2 separate regions of the Homo sapiens genome follow, and region 1 is linked to region 2. Evidence: promoter capture Hi-C in 16 types of primary human blood cells and fetal thymus (Javierre and others, 2016). All regions are on one chromosome and are shown on one strand. The core of a region is centred on a gene start or on the middle of the fragment in contact, and the rest is flanking DNA. Distances in the headings are between cores, read along the strand shown. Region 1 has its middle 9.4 kb from the start of TRV-CAC6-1. Region 2 holds the start of H2AC15 (H2A clustered histone 15).

Evidence for each region. Contacts are between HindIII fragments. The CHiCAGO score rates a contact against its expected background, and 5 or more counts as called.
Region 1: a fragment that was not itself captured here is called in contact with the fragment with the promoter of H2AC15 in region 2 in 1 of 17 cell types (naive CD8 T cells); the score reaches 5.2 in naive CD8 T cells.

Annotation. Positions count from the first base shown.
Region 1 is chr6:27,195,167-27,198,282 of GRCh38, reverse strand. No RefSeq gene overlaps it. Among named protein-coding and RNA genes, the nearest start is that of TRV-CAC6-1, 9.4 kb to the left of the region's middle. The HindIII fragment of the contact is 877 bases long and covers 1,106-1,982 here.
Region 2 is chr6:27,836,891-27,839,909 of GRCh38, reverse strand. H2AC15 (H2A clustered histone 15) reads left to right here and starts at 1,535. Exons shown (of 1, transcript NM_003510.3): 1 at 1,535-2,030. The coding sequence starts at 1,571. The coding sequence ends at 1,963. It overlaps H2BC15 (H2B clustered histone 15), which reads right to left and starts at 1,341. Exons shown (of 1, transcript NM_003520.4): 1 at 800-1,341. The coding sequence starts at 1,248. The coding sequence ends at 868. RefSeq lists enhancers at 1,090-1,299, 1,630-1,719, 1,790-1,899, 2,170-2,219, 2,290-2,379 and 3 more. The HindIII fragment of the contact is 16,643 bases long and covers 1-3,019 here.

The sequences.
Region 1 (3,116 bases), core at 295-2,794, 640 kb after region 2:
GCTGGGATTACAGGTGCATGCCACCACGCCCATTTAATTTTTTGAATTTTATTAGAGATGGGATTTCACCATGCTAGCCAGGATGGTCCTGATCTCCTGACCTCGTGATCTGCCCACCTCGGCCTCCCAAAGTGTTGGGATTACAGGCATAAGCCACTGCACCTGTCTTTTTTTTTTTTTTTTTTTTTTTTTTGACGGAGTGTCAATCTGTTGTCCAGGCTGGAGTGAAGTGGTGTGATCTCTGCTCACTGCAACCTCCACCTGCCTTCTGGGTTTGAGCGATTCTCCCACCTCAGCCTCTCCAGTAGCTGGAACTACAGGCGTGGCACATCACACCTGGCTAATTTTTGTATTTTTAGAAGAGAAGGGGTTTCACCATGTTGGTCAGGTTGGTCTTGAACTCCTGACCTGAAGTGATCTGTCCGTGGTGGCCTCCCAAAGTGCTGAGATTACAGTTGTGAGCCACAGCGCCCGGCCAAGAAGATCTTTCATAAGGTAAAATAAAGATACTCCCTAGGTGGAGAAGACCATCTGGATACTTAAGCAATTATTAAGAAGTCATGAGTGCTCTGGATTTTGAGGTCTGGAAGAGTGGAGGAGAGACCACGTGTGGTTTGGGGGCCATTATGACCACAGTAAAGAATAGACTGGATCAGCCGGGCGCGGTAGCTCACGCCTGTAATCCTACCACTGTGGGAGGCTGAGGCGGGCAGATTGCCTGAGTTCAGGAGTTCGAGAACAGCCTGGACAACACGGTGAAATGCCATCTCTACTAAAATACAAAGTATTAGGTAGGTGTGGCAGCATGCGCCTGTAGTCCCAGCTACTCCAGAGGCCAAGGCAGGAGAATTGCTTGAACCTGGGAGGCGGAGGTTGCAGTTAGCTGAGATCGTGCCACTGCACTCCACCCTGGGCGACAGAGCGAGACTCTCTCTCCAAAAAAAAAAAAAAAGACTAGACTGGATCATGTCACGTTCTCAGTAAACATCTGTGTAATCAATGGACACTATTAAAGGTAACTTTCTGAAATGTAAACAAATGCTTATGTGACATCCTGTCACTCTTCATGTGACCAGCAGATTCATCTAGAAGTCTAAGTAAAGCTTAGGAATGCACTTGTAGGTAGTTAGCCGTTTCACTTCTTGATGTTTTTGTGTCATCATGTTGACATTATTTGTGACTTTGCATAACTTAAATATAAGAACAATAATGGCTATCTCAATATCCATTGGATCAATGAGGTGTGATTTAAAGTTTACCTAAAACAACATGCAAAGCACCTGGCATGAAGTGGACCCTCAAACGGTTAGTTTTCTAAGTGAGAGTGGCTAGGCTGTTGCTATGTATCTTAAAGGAAATAGTTTCAAGACATGACAAAAGGCATTTTGGCACAGAAATCAGGAAATGTATTTAAAAATACACCCCACTGAATTCCATTTCTGGTTAAGTTGTAGAAAATTGCAAGAGTCTGTTTCTCTCTATTTAATAACTAAAGCAAGAGCATAAGCTACAAAATAGTAGATTTTCTGAACCCACCAGGGAATTGATACAAAGGAATCTAATCAAATTCCACCTAGAAAGAGGTCTTCATATGAGAAAAGAGGTTTCTAGCTGCCCTTGTTCCTGGCAGATGGGCAGACAAGCAGAGGAAGAGAAACCCTTGAATACTAAATGAGGGAAAAAGCCATCAAAACTCCAAAAGATTTTTAAGATTTGCCTGTGGGCCTACTTGACCCAAGCACAGAATTCCAAGTAGCCAAAAAACCACTGCCAGTTGTCTCTGCTAGAGGAGAGCATCCCAAAAGAAGGTGAATGGGCAGGCTGGAAAGTGGAGAGGAATATCCACTGAGGCATCCTCAGGTGCAAAGTCTTTTGAAGTTGGTGAGCACAGCCACAAAACTAAGAGAAATCAATCTAGCGCACTTTGTATTTCTGCTGCCAAGTACCAGGACTGGAGAGCTGAGAGAAGCCCCTCCAAAGCTTTCTAAGTGGAGAGAGATCTTTGTTGGGGACCAGCCTCAACACCACCCATAGGGTAGTTAAAGTCTTTGTGGCGACGAAGGAATGAGAAGAGACAGGTTTAAAGTGTATAAAGAGTGGGGGCCAGGGGGCCAATTGCAAAATGGAGGCTGCAAAAGGCACCAAGCTCCAGTCTCCACACTATTTATTGAGTACAATCACTTACATCTAAGAAGCAGACGTTTAGGGCGAAACGGTGAAAGGGAGGCAGTGTGTTATAGGCATAATCTATAGCAATAGCGGTTTAAATGAATCTCCTTTGTGCCCAAACATCGTATCTATAACTTATCGGAGTGTAGCTAGTGGGAGCGGGCTTAACTAGGAGCCTGCACGTCTGTCTACATTCCAATGCTTCAAAGGAGTGTCTTTCTTCTTGAACACAGTGTTTATAGATAAGAGAGCAGGTTGCACTCAGAGCATGGGAACATAATGGCGATAAGAAGGCTTTCCTCTTCAGAGGCCTCTTGTGGCTTTCCACAACTTATTGTCTCATATTTTTATGGCCAGCTTATGCAGGCACCCCACAAGCCTTTTTCCCAATATGCCCCACTTTTTTTAAAAACCACCATTGTTATTAAGGCTTGTTCGTGGTGTCTGGTCTCTCTCTAGAGGTGTCTTCTGTATTTGTAGACTAAAAGCAAACAGTATAAACAGATACACATTAAAGCAAAATTTGCAATAGTTGATCCTCTAATGGTCTTAATCCATTTAAGAGGGTTTATGTCTGAAAGTCCATCAGTAGCTTCAGTGAGAATGTCAGTCCCAGGCAGGAGAGTTAAATGAGCCTGAGATGCTTTAAAAACCTGGTCTTTTAATTTGGCCTTATCTAATGTGGGCAGAAAGCCACCCAGGTGCTGAGGCAAGAGACTGAAGGCACAACCTCTTCCAGTATAATAAAGAAAATAATTATGATAAGAAAAAGTTATTTTAGAAATAGAATACAGAGGTGATTATAATGGATATTATTAATCATTAGTTTTTAGTATTAATCTTTGTATTATTATTATTACCAAAGAAAAACCAGGCCGTACAGAGTTAGGAGCTGAAGGGACATTGTGAGAAGTGACCAGAAGACGAGAGTGTGAGCCCTCTGTCAC
Region 2 (3,019 bases), core at 286-2,785:
CGGGATTGGCCATTGACATCAACTCAGCCCGATTGACGTGTACGGTGCTGTAAACTGGGTTCAAACTTTTTTCTACTGCCTTTCTATCTTAATATTTAGCAAATCCAAACTGGGGACAAGGGAGGAGAAACAGCACCACTCTCAAAACAAACAAGTCGATTTGTACGTTTGTGTGTGTGCCAACTGCTTCATTACTAAAGTACACATGAAGTTTAGGGACAGAGCGCCGGAAGCACTGTGGATATTTTACCAGTGACACTTAAGTATTATATTTTCTTTGGGGTCAACAGGAACTGAATTTTCCCTTTACTAGGTTTGTCTGATGATAAACCTCATCCTTCTTCAGATATAAAATTGTCTCAAGCGTTGCTGCAACATGCAGTACACTGCAGTGCTAATTAATTTCTTTTCTTTTTCTTTCTTTTTTGAGACAGAGTTTCGCTCTTACTGCCCAGGCTGGGGTGCAATGGCCCGATCTCGGCTCACTGCAACCTCCATCTGCCGGGTTCAAGCGATTCTCCTGCCTCAGCTTCCCGGGTAGCTGGGATTACAGGCGTCCGCCACCACGCCCAGCTATTTTTTTGTACTTTTAGTAGAGACGGGTTTCACCATGTTGGCTAGGCTCGTCTCGAACTTCTAACCTCAGGTGAGCCACCCGCTTCGGTTTCCCGAACCGGGATTAGAGGCTTGAGCCAAAATTAGTTTCTAACAAGGCTAAAGGAATCTTGGAAATCGTCTTTGTAGCAAGTAAGAAATACCTGCTGTAAGAACAGTGAGTGCCAGTTCTCTTTGGGAAGACTGAGTGGCTCTGAAAAGAGCCTTTGGGGTGTGGGCCGAGACTGACCGAACGTTCCGCGGTGGGCGGGCTCACTTGGAACTGGTGTACTTGGTGACGGCCTTGGTGCCCTCCGACACCGCGTGCTTGGCCAGCTCCCCTGGCAGCAGCAGGCGCACGGCCGTCTGGATCTCCCTGGAGGTGATGGTCGAGCGCTTGTTGTAATGCGCCAGGCGGGAAGCCTCGCCGGCGATGCGCTCGAAGATGTCATTGACGAAGGAGTTCATGATGCCCATGGCCTTGGACGAGATACCGGTGTCGGGGTGGACCTGCTTCAGCACCTTGTACACGTACACGGAGTAGCTCTCCTTGCGGCTGCGCTTGCGCTTCTTGCCGTCCTTCTTCTGGGCCTTTGTCACTGCCTTCTTGGAGCCTTTCTTCGGGGCAGGAGCGGACTTTGAGGGCTCGGGCATGACTGGGAGTAACTGCCGGAAAATTGGAGGAAAAAAACAGGAAGACGGTAGCTCTGTCAACCTACCGCTTATTCACTGCTTCTTAACGCAAGTGGGGTAGAGAATGAAGTTGTGCGTTTAACCAGTGGTGAGTCCTGGAAACGTATATTAACTTTGTCCAATCAAAATAAGTGTTTTTCAAAACCGCAATCCCATTGGTTAAAGCGAAACTGTAATGTTAGCCAATAGCACAGCTTAGTTTTCGTGCCTCTGTTGACTATAAGTAGCGGAGCTTTAGCGTTACGTCAGTCTCAGGAACGTTACTGATTGAATTTTTTACGTCATGTCGGGACGTGGCAAGCAGGGCGGCAAAGCTCGCGCCAAGGCTAAGACCCGTTCTTCAAGGGCGGGTCTTCAGTTCCCAGTGGGCCGAGTGCACCGACTGCTCCGCAAGGGCAACTACGCTGAGCGGGTCGGTGCCGGAGCGCCGGTGTACCTGGCGGCGGTGTTGGAGTACCTAACCGCCGAGATCCTGGAACTGGCTGGCAACGCGGCCCGCGACAACAAGAAGACCCGCATCATCCCGCGCCACTTGCAGCTGGCCATCCGCAACGACGAGGAGCTCAACAAGCTGCTTGGTAAAGTGACCATCGCCCAGGGTGGTGTCCTGCCCAATATCCAGGCCGTGCTGCTGCCTAAGAAAACTGAGAGCCACCACAAGGCCAAGGGCAAGTAGCGGGGCTGGAGCAGTTCATTACTCATACCTCGGTCCAAACCAAAAAGGTTCTTTTCAGAGCCACCTACTTTTTCACCAAGTAGAGCTGTGTTCAGTTTTATCTGATAGTCGAGTCATTTTGCAATGGCACTGGAATGCTGTATGGAGATGAAGCAAAACTAAACGGCTTTTACACCACATTGTTTTGAGATAGAAAGTAGACATTGAAATGTTTACGGTACATCAAGAAATTTAGGCGCGGCAGCTCGCGCCTGCAATACAGCTGAAACAATAAGAAAAGTGAGGCAAGAGAATAACAAAGGGAGCTGAAAGTTAGAGGGCAGAATAAGTAAAAGCAAAGGGCAGAAGTAAGGTAGATGGGCGGGTGAACAAGAAGCGAGATAACAAGCAGTGAACCTTTTGCAGCCGAAACAAAAGAGATAATGTGAGCAAGGACCTCGTGGCCGGCAAGATCTGGAACAAACCAGTTTAAGAGGCAGCTCTTCAGAGATGGGCATGCGTATTAGAGAGGAAAAGTATCCTTAACAAAAGCCCGTATGATAATCAGCTACTTAAGGTTCATGCATATGGGCTACATATCATGCATATATTTAAGATTATAAGATAGAGGCACAAGCCACAGAGGACAAAGTAAGCAACAAACCTATCAATAAAAGGGCAGATGCTGGCTATAGATTAGGCAGCACTGGGAACAGAAAACATACACACACGCACGCACACACATAAAATGACTCAAACTACAGCAAGCTGACGCTGATCTCACCTCGCAGAGGTCAGTCCGCTCTCTCCCACCCCCGAGAGTGTAATACTCTGTTTACTAAACTTTTGCTGCTTTGCTTTGCTATCTGTGTGTGTGTCGTCCAATTTCTACCGGGCACCAAGAGCCTGGAACTGTTTGGCACCATCCGGTAAACAGAACCGCTTTGGGAAGCCGAGGCGGAAGGACCGCTAGAGCCTTGGAGTTCGAAGCCAGCCTGATCTTTACAAAAGTAAAATAACTAACCGTGCCTGGCGTCTCATAGCCTGTAGTCCTAGCTACTCGGGAGGCTGAGACCA